Linked DNA regions of Homo sapiens: region 1 is linked to region 2. The links are contacts of gene promoters, found by promoter capture Hi-C in blood cells and fetal thymus (Javierre and others, 2016). All regions are on one chromosome and are shown on one strand. The core of a region is centred on a gene start or on the middle of the fragment in contact, and the rest is flanking DNA. Distances in the headings are between cores, read along the strand shown. Region 1 holds the start of FOXE1 (forkhead box E1). Region 2 holds the start of XPA (XPA, DNA damage recognition and repair factor).

Region 1 (4,716 bases), core at 1,464-3,963, 160 kb after region 2:
AATGCATTATTCAAAGAGAACATTTATGAAATAGAAATTTAGGGGTCCTTGGTTTGCGAAAATCTTAGAATCATGATCTTGGAAATTCTAATCTCATGATGCTAGGTATTTGGTCTCGGCCACAGGAGTAGCTTGATATTAACAAAGTTTGAGAAAACCATCAGAATTCTAGAAGAATGAGGTCACAGACACAAGACACTGAAGAACAGAAAATCCTGAGACAAGAAGGCTTTTAGCCATAGTCGTTGCAGCTTAAAAGTAGAGGATCATAAAGTCATGGGACTAATCATTACAGCATATAATCACAAACATTAGAAGAATTATTGGAATCAGATTATTTGAACTACAGAATAGCAGATCCAGCACTAACATTTTAGAATTAAGGAAGGAGAGAACTGCGGATTTACAGGATTCAAATTCTTCCAATCAGACATTCCTAAACAGGAATTCAAATTAAATAATATATAACTTAGAGTGGAAAAAATAAAAAACTGGAGAAGTGGCAGCTTCAAGAGTGGCATCATATTTTCAGGCACAAAATCTTAGGTCCCCGTTTTTTGTTTGTTTTGTTTTGCTTTTAAGAGACCGGGTCTCCCTTTGCTGCACAGGCTGGAGTGCTGTGGCTACTCACAGGCACAATGATTGTGCACTACAGCCTGGAACTCCTGGGCTCAAGCGATCTTCCTGCCTTAACCTCCAGTAGCTGGGACTACAGGCTCCCGCCACCGTGCCTGGTTTAGTCCCAGTATCTTAATACATAGGTTTTTAGACTTTGACTAGAAGCTTAAGTCAAAGGAATATAAGCATAGTCAAAGTTAGACTCCCAGTCTTGGAATCTTAGAATTACAGGGTCGCAGGATCGCAGGATCGCATTCTTTAGATTTATGGAATCACGTTAGGACAACGGTCGTCCAGAATTTAAAATCTAGATATCTGAATCTCAGAATCTTGAAAGTTACTGAGAGCCACGAAATCCCGTATTAAAAGGTGCCTATAATATAATCCAGTTAAAAATTTTAAAATTTGAAGTTTTTCCTCCTTTGTAAAAACGAAACAGGACGAAATCTGGGTTTTTTGCTTCTCCATTACTTGGGAAGAAGGAAACCAGGAGTTTTGTTTAGCGAGTGTAAAGCCCCTCTCCCTTCGTTCGACCAACCCTCTGCCGCAGAAGGTTGTCAAGCAAACGCTTTGAGCGTTTCCACACACCGGGTCGACGGAGCAAGGATCTGGGCTTTGCCTCGCTCTTCCGAAGGCAGCTGCCCAACGCTTGGCCGGGCTTAGCCTGCCCTCAGCTCACCGCCACGAAGAACGCGACTAAAACCCTGGAAGGCATGCCACCCGTTACTGGCCAGAACTCTCGTCTTGGGATCTCCCACACTCACCTGGCACCACCATCCGCGCGGCTCTGCACCCACAGCCCCGGCCCGCCCCCCCCCCCCACCCCGGAAAGCTGCGTCCGGGCTGGAGCCACTGGAACCCGCGCCAAGGCCCGGAATCCTATACGTAGCAGGGGCCTCGGAGATCAGCACACGCCCTCCAGCTGCTATTTAACAGAGTAGAACACTGAGGCCCTGCGAGGGGACAAGGACAGGCCCTGGATCTCCCAGTGAATGGCCAGGGAACGAACCCGGGCCAGAGGGGCCGCGCCGCGAGGATCTCAGGTTAGGACCAAGTTCCGGCTCAGGGACAGCAGGAAAGGAACTCAGAAATTGGACACCCATGAAGCAAACGTGTCCCGACTGCCCGCCCCTTCCCCCGGAGACGCGCCCACCCGGCCACCGCTCTCTTCCCACTCCCCCATTACCCGCAGCCCTCACTCCCCGCTGCGGGAAGGGGCTGCTTGGCTGCCTCTGGGGGTCTTCAGAGCTACCCTGGTCCCGGGGGATTGGAGGAGGAGGTTACCTATCCTGCGTCGTCTTTAATCCGTGCACCACTATCCATCAAATAGAGACAGATCCTGGGCCTCTCAAAGACGGATGATTGGGGGTGGTGATTGGCCTATCCCTAAATATCTACCACGCAAGGACTCTTGAGAGATCCAGACCCCGGTACAGTCGAGGGACCTGGGGCCCAAAAAGGGAAAGCGGCTACCTCTACCACACAGTTGGGAAGCGCAGTCCTAAAGGAGACGCAGGTTGGAGACTCCGCTAAGCGGAGAAGCCGCAGTGGGGCCATGGCAAGTCACCTTCCCTTTCGGGCCTAGGAATACTCATTCGAAAGATGGGGGGACTGGAGTGCCGAGTGGCTGTGGCAGCCACGATTGGGGTTTGGAAACCATCCTGAAAGGCCCGGGGAGCCAGTCTCCTGGAACTTCTCCCTCCCCATTCCCACAAAAACCAAGCGCCCTCTCGGCCAATTCTCACCCTCTCAGGACAAAAAAGTGAGATGAGCCCGTCCTTTCACCTGCGAGTCCAAGCCCTTGGCAGAGGCCTGAAAAGTCCGAAAACTCCGAGTTCGGGCGCTGAGGTCTCCCGAGCCGGTTCCTGAACTCTCCGGGCCTCAGTCGATCGGGGTGCGGAGGGGGCCGACCCGGGGGATCTCCAAGCGCCCTCCCCGCCCTGACGCTGTGGGGCTCCTACCGCGCCGCCACAGCTGCTCCTACCTGGGGAGGTGCGCCCGGGCCCCGGGGGGCGGGCAGTCGGGGGGCGGGCAGGGAACCGGTGCCGCCCCACGCTTCGTGGCCCCTTTAAGGAGGGGAAGCCGGCGGAGGGAGGAGCCGGTCCGGTGTGTGCAGGGGAGCGCCTCGCCAGCGGTCCGCAGGGCTGGAGACCCACGCCGTGGAGAGGACCAGCCTCAGGTCGCCCCGCCTGGGCCCGCGCCCCGACCTCGCTGCCCCCGCCTCGCCTCTCTGCCCGTGGCGCTTACGGCCACCTTGGCCTCGGGGGCAGGGCATGGGCGGCCCCCGCCAGATCGCCCAGCGCCAGTACTAACTGCCCTCGCTCTGGCCTTCGAGCCCGAAGCCTCTTCTGCGCGCACAACCTAGGCAGTAATCCTAAACTAGCGGGCACCACAGACCAGCTGCAGCCACCCCAACCCAGGGATCACTTCCGGACCCCTCGACCGCCCGGCACCAGCGCGCAAGGGACCCTTCAGCCGGAGACCAGAGTCCAGTCCCGGTCACGAGGCCACCGCCGCTGCCCGCCTCGAGAAGCACCACGCGGGCTGAGCCGTCGGCTAGCGGGTCACTCCCGAGCCTCTGTCTGCACCGCGCCAGCCCCAGACCACGGACGCTGAGCCTCCAGCGCGTGCCAGCCTGGGCCGCTGGGCTCTCGGGGCCAGCCCGCGACGATCCCCTGAGCTCTCCGCAGAAGGGCCGAGCGTCCGTTCCGGGGACGCCAGGCCCGCCCCCGCCCCCCGACAGCCGCGGGGATCCAGAGCCCGGGGGTGCGGGACGCCCGCGCCATGACTGCCGAGAGCGGGCCGCCGCCGCCGCAGCCGGAGGTGCTGGCTACCGTGAAGGAAGAGCGCGGCGAGACGGCAGCAGGGGCCGGGGTCCCAGGGGAGGCCACGGGCCGCGGGGCGGGCGGGCGGCGCCGCAAGCGCCCCCTGCAGCGCGGGAAGCCGCCCTACAGCTACATCGCGCTCATCGCCATGGCCATCGCGCACGCGCCCGAGCGCCGCCTCACGCTGGGCGGCATCTACAAGTTCATCACCGAGCGCTTCCCCTTCTACCGCGACAACCCCAAAAAGTGGCAGAACAGCATCCGCCACAACCTCACACTCAACGACTGCTTCCTCAAGATCCCGCGCGAGGCCGGCCGCCCGGGTAAGGGCAACTACTGGGCGCTTGACCCCAACGCGGAGGACATGTTCGAGAGCGGCAGCTTCCTGCGCCGCCGCAAGCGCTTCAAGCGCTCGGACCTCTCCACCTACCCGGCTTACATGCACGACGCGGCGGCTGCCGCAGCCGCCGCCGCCGCCGCCGCCGCCGCCGCCGCCATCTTCCCAGGCGCGGTGCCCGCCGCGCGCCCCCCCTACCCGGGCGCCGTCTATGCAGGCTACGCGCCGCCGTCGCTGGCCGCGCCGCCTCCAGTCTACTACCCCGCGGCGTCGCCCGGCCCTTGCCGCGTCTTCGGCCTGGTTCCTGAGCGGCCGCTCAGCCCAGAGCTGGGGCCCGCACCGTCGGGGCCCGGCGGCTCTTGCGCCTTTGCCTCCGCCGGCGCCCCCGCTACCACCACCGGCTACCAGCCCGCAGGCTGCACCGGGGCCCGGCCGGCCAACCCCTCCGCCTATGCGGCTGCCTACGCGGGCCCCGACGGCGCGTACCCGCAGGGCGCCGGCAGTGCGATCTTTGCCGCTGCTGGCCGCCTGGCGGGACCCGCTTCGCCCCCAGCGGGCGGCAGCAGTGGCGGCGTGGAGACCACGGTGGACTTCTACGGGCGCACGTCGCCCGGCCAGTTCGGAGCGCTGGGAGCCTGCTACAACCCTGGCGGGCAGCTCGGAGGGGCCAGTGCAGGCGCCTACCATGCTCGCCATGCTGCCGCTTATCCCGGTGGGATAGATCGGTTCGTGTCCGCCATGTGAGCCAGCGTAGGGACGAAAACTCATAGACACATCGGCTGTTCACACGTTCCCCGCAATCTGAGAACGAACAGGAATGGAGAGAGGACTCAACTGGGACCCACGTGGAAAAGACCGAGCAGGCCACAGAGGCTCGGTCTCCCCGCGCACAGCGTAGGCACCCGGTGTACTCTGTAAACGGGAGGAGGTGGGGCG
Region 2 (5,111 bases), core at 55-2,554:
GCCTCAAGTTTAGAAAGGAATAAAAGGTAACCACTATAAAGTAGAAAGGATGAGACCAGTACCATCAAAAGTAGCTGGAATTTGCAGTTTCGGTGTTAGTATGAACATCAAGACATGCTGCCAGCCTCAGACTCTTCTCACTCTCACTACATCTGGCTGATAAAAAAGAGTAATACAGCTCTAAACTGTGCTCGACAAAGGGCAGTATAGAGCTTTAGGAACACATGTACTTCATGTTATAGAGGCAGCCCTGAAGAACTGCCTGTCAACCAAACTATATTTTAAGTATCCTGTTAAAGATTATTAGTTGACCCCAGTGGCAAATTCTATAAGAGAATAATCTGCAATGAGAGATCAGTCCTTAATTTACTTCAATCAATAAACACGTTTTGAGCAACTAGTTTTTGCCAAGAAATCGCAGAGGTCACATGTCCAAGAAATAGACTCATGGAATCTATGGATTAGAATCTTAAAGGTTTACTATCCAGTCCCTTCTTCTGATTGCTGAGTAGGAGATTCTGATTGCTGAATCTCCTCTCCTCCACATAAGTAAGCGTTCTTCCAGTTCCTATTTGAGCGCTTCTAGTAACGGGAAGCTCATGAGAAGCAATCCATTGCACTTTTGGCAACTCTAATTGTTGAAAGCTCTCCCTAACAAACACCAAGATCTGCCTCTTCCATCAACTAGTTCTAGGTATAGAGGCCAGAATCAAGAACTAGTCTAACTCCTCTTTCCGGGACAGCTGAGGCCCTGACACCTGGCAGTGGCTGACACCTCCCGGCCGGGGCGGCTGCATCCCTAAACGAAAAATCGAAGCTGCCAGCAGCCGAGGTGCAGCGAAGAAGGCCCGGGGCTGGGGGTCAGGAGGCCCGCGTGCGACAGAGGAACGCTCTGTGGTCGTGGACAGGACGCTTTGACAAGGCGGCTGGCTGGGCGGATTCCCTCTCCGACTCGGGGAGAATCTGCACACATACGCCAGCGGAGTTGACGCGACCCCCGGGCCCCGGGACTCGGCTTGCACGAGCCAGTCTGGGGACCGGGGAGGCGGGGAGAGGGAAGGGGAAAGCGCGGACGCGGCCCAAACCTCCAGTAGCCGCAGCCGCCGTCGCCGAGTAGGGCCGGGCAGCCAGCCGGGCCTGGCGCAGCATCAGTGCCCGCTGCCGCTTCCGCTCGATACTCGCCCGCACCGAGGCAGGCAGCTCCGCGGGTTGCTCTAAAGCCGCCGCCTCCGGCAAAGCCCCGTCGGCCGCCGCCATCTCTGGCCCACTCCGAGGACCTAGCTCCCAGCTCCACGCACGCGCACTGCACGCCGAGGCGAGCCAGCCGCCCTGCACCGCCTCTGCGCTCCCCGCACCCAGCGGCCTTTCTGAGTGAGAGCGCCTGCGCAGTTAAGGGGCTCGGGGTGGCCTGCCCGGGCGCTGGGCGGAGTCTGGGTATGCGCGGACACGGAGTACCCGCCTAACTACCTGCTCTCTTGTCATCCGGGAGAAGGGTCCGTGCTGAGATCATATCTCACGACCTGGTCACCTTTAAAATAGGTCTCGCTTGGTGATTCAGAGTATAGGCTTTGGAGTCAGGCCTGGGTTAAGTCTGAGCTCTTGACAGTTAAAGTCTGTGTGACCTTGGGCAAGTTATTTAACCAGAGTTCAGTTTCTTCAGTGGTAAAATGAGGATAATTATGGAACCATTTACCGAGTCTTTGGGAGGATTAGATTGCCAGGACAATAACCTGGCACGTAGAAGACCTCAAAAAATGGTAACAGTGAGTAGTAGTAGTGCCAGTCATAGAGCCCAACAGATGATAGTCCTGATTTTATGTTGGATACACGGCCTAGAGACACAGCCTTAGATTTAAAATGAGAAGACCTGGGTTGAAACTCCCAGTTAACTTGCTGTGTGACCTCAGGCAAATGCAGGACTTGCTCCAAGGCTGATATGCATAAGGTTGGCTATCTTTCCCATGGAATATTCCTTCAGTGAGGATGAGCTACTGCCAGGTAGACAGTGGGTTTGGATCTGGGCCAAATATCCTGACTTCCCAAAAGTGTGGCTAGTGTAACAAAAGAAACATAGCAGGCTTTCCCAAAAATGTATGCTTTCCCTTTGTTACAAATAATGCTTAATTGAAACCAGAAAACATTAACTTCTAATTACTACATGTACCATTTAGGACTGGCTTTTAGAAAGACAACCTCACACACTGATGTTTCCCACTAATGTTCAATGGTTAACCTTTCAGAAACACAATTCAGTGTTCTAATTTATCGGTCATATATACATAAAGCTGCAAAACCTCGTATAAAGCAGTTACCTGCTGAAATCTTAGGTTGAATTGGAGATAGAATCTCAAGCCATCCCCATCTCCCTTCCCCTCAGATCCTTCTTTCTCCCTACCCATCAATCTTGCCCAGGTGAAACTATTTCAAATTCCATAACATCAAAAGCACAAGCAACAAAAGAAAAAAAGCTGGACTTCATTAAAATTAAAAACTAGGCTGGGCACAGTGGTTCACACCTGTAATCTCAACAGTTTGGGAGGCCAAGGCAGGAGGATGACTTGAGGTCATGAGTTCAAGACAAGCTGAGGCAACACAGTGAGACCCTGTCACTATTAAAAAATAATAATAATTGGCAAGGTGCAGTGGCTCATGTCTGTAATCCCAGCCCTTTGGGAGGCCAACACAGGAGGATTGCTTGAGACCAGGAGTTCAAGACCAACCTGGGCAATGTAACAAGAACCCATCTCAGGAGGTCAAGGCTGCAGTGAGCTGTGATGGCACCACTACACTCCAGCCTGGGCAACACAATAACATCTTGTCTCAAAAAAAAATTAAAGTCGTCGGCAAAGCCTGAGTCCTGTCCTCTCACTCTCCTCCCTGGACAGCATAAGCTTCACCACTCGCTCCACCTTCTCCACCAACTACCGGTCCCTGGGTTCTGTCCAGGCACCCAGCTACGGTGTCCGGCTGGTCAGCAGCATAGCCAGCGTCTGTACAGGCACGGGGGCTCTGGTTCCCGGATCTCCATGTCCCGCTCCACCAGCTACCTGAGCAGCATGGGTTCCGGGGGCCTGGCCGCGGGGATGGCCAGGGGTCTGGCAGGAATGAGAGGCATCCAGAACAAGAAGGAGACCGTGCAAAACCTGAACAACTGCCTGGCCTCCTACCTGGACAGAATGAGGAGCCTGGAGGCCAAGAACTGGAAGCTGGAGAGTAAAATCCAGGAGCACCTGTAGAAGAAGGGACCCCAGGTCAGAGATGAGCCATTACTTCAAGACCATTGAGGGCCTGAGGACTCAGATCTTCACAAATACTGTGGACAATGCCTGCATTGTTCTGCAGATTGACAATGCTGGTCTTGCTGCTGATGACTTTAGAGTCAAGTATGAGACAGAGCTGGCCATGCGCCAGTCTGTGGAGAGCCACATCCATGGGCTCCGGAGGTCACTGATGACACCAGTGTCACTCGGCTGCAGCTGGAGACAGAGATCGAAGCTCTCAAGGAGGAGCTGCTCTTCATGAAGAAGAACCACGAAGAGGAAGTAAAAGTGTTGTACCCGAGCGAGTTAAAAAAACGCCACACTTTGAGATGAATTAAGAGTCCTTTATTAGCCGGCGACCGAGAGACGGCTAACGCTCAAAATTCTCTCGGCCCCGAGGAAGGGGCTTGATTAACTTTTATACCTTGGTTTAGAAAGGGGGGGTCGTCTAGTTAAAACAATTTTACAGAAGTTAAGTAGTCAAAAAGTTAAAAGGATAAATGGTTACAGGAAAGTAAACAGTTCCAGATGCAGGGGCTTTAAGACTATTACAAGGTTATAGATGCAGGGCTTTGGGCGTTATCAAACAGATGAATTCTTGGGGACTGTGGATATAGCTTGCCACAGTATCTTATCAGTTAATTGCATTCTTGGATGTGCTGGGAGTCAGCTTGCACAAGTTAAGTCCTTGAGGAAGGGGCTGCCAGTGAAAGAGCCAAGATGGAGTTTGTCTGGTTCTCTTAGCTAAGGGAGAGTCTGTTCAGGTGGAAACAAGCCTAGGTGAAAAAGGAAAAATGAGGTTGGGCATTACAAAAGGCCTACAAGCCTAGATTGCCAGCTCTGGGTTGACCATGGAGGTAGATGCCCCCAGTCTCGGGACCTTGCCAAGATCATGGCAGACATCCGGCCCCAATATGATGAGCTGGCTCGGAAGAACTGAGAGGAGCTGGACAAATACTGGTCTCAGCAGATTGAGGAGAGCACCTCAGTGGTCACCACGCAGTCCACCGAGGTTGGAGCTGCTGGGATGATGCTCACGGAGCTGAGATGTATAGTCCAGTCCTTGAAGATCAACCTGGACTCCATGAGAAATCTGAAGGCCAGCTTGGAGAACAGCCTGAGGGAGGTCGAGGCCCGCTATGCCTTGCAGAGGGAGCAGCTCAACGGGATCCTGCTGCACCTGGAGTCAGAGCTGGCACAGACCCGGGCAGAGGGACAGTGCCAGGCTCAAGAGTACAAGGCCCTGCTGAACATCAAGGTCAAGCTGGAGGCTGAGAGCACTGCCTACTGCTGCCTGCTGGAGGATGGCAAGGACTTCAATCTTGGTGATGCCCTGGACAGCAGCAACTCCATGCAAACCATCCAAAAGACCACCACCCGCCGGATAGTGGATGGCAAAGTGGTGTCTGACCAACGACACCAAAGTTCTGAGACATTAAGCCAGCAGAAGCAGGGTACACTTTGGGGAGCAGGAGGCCAATAAAAAGTTCAGAGGTCAAAAAAAAATTGAAAACTTTTCTACGTCAAAGAACACTATGAAGAAAATTGGGGTAAAAACCCCACAGAATGGGAGAAAATATTTGCAAATCAGATATCCAATAAGGGTCTAGTATCCAGAATTTATAACAAACACTTTCAGCTCAACAACAGAAAGACAACCCAATTTAAAAATGAGCAAGGGACTTAAATTGACATTTTTCCGAAGAGGATGTACTGATGGCCAACAAACACATGAAAATATATTCATCATTAGTCATTAGGGAAATGCAAATTAAGGCACAGTGAGATACCACTTCACACCTCCAGGCAAGCCTTCCTCCTGTAATTTCAACCCTGCCAACAAACCCCCTC

Evidence for each region. The method cuts DNA at HindIII sites, captures the fragments that hold promoters and counts their contacts. A CHiCAGO score of 5 or more calls a contact.
Region 1: the fragment with the promoter of FOXE1 here is called in contact with the fragment with the promoter of XPA in region 2 in 3 of 17 cell types (megakaryocytes, endothelial precursors and erythroblasts); the score reaches 6.6 in megakaryocytes.

The regions. Positions count from the first base shown.
Region 1 is chr9:97,850,513-97,855,228 of GRCh38, forward strand. It overlaps FOXE1 (forkhead box E1), which reads left to right and starts at 2,714. Exons shown (of 1, transcript NM_004473.4): 1 at 2,714-4,716. The coding sequence starts at 3,403. The coding sequence ends at 4,524. PTCSC2 (papillary thyroid carcinoma susceptibility candidate 2) reads right to left here and starts at 2,568. Exons shown (of 11, transcript NR_147055.1): 1 at 2,404-2,568. RefSeq lists an enhancer at 1,181-1,682. The HindIII fragment of the contact is 6,931 bases long and covers 782-4,716 here.
Region 2 is chr9:97,696,036-97,701,146 of GRCh38, forward strand. It overlaps XPA (XPA, DNA damage recognition and repair factor), which reads right to left and starts at 1,305. Exons shown (of 6, transcript NM_000380.4): 1 at 1,086-1,305. The coding sequence starts at 1,257. It overlaps PTCSC2 (papillary thyroid carcinoma susceptibility candidate 2), which reads right to left. Exons shown (of 11, transcript NR_147055.1): 11 at 3,590-4,036. It also overlaps the pseudogene KRT18P13. RefSeq lists enhancers at 697-756, 767-816 and a silencer at 1,367-1,466. The HindIII fragment of the contact is 4,221 bases long and covers 1-2,889 here.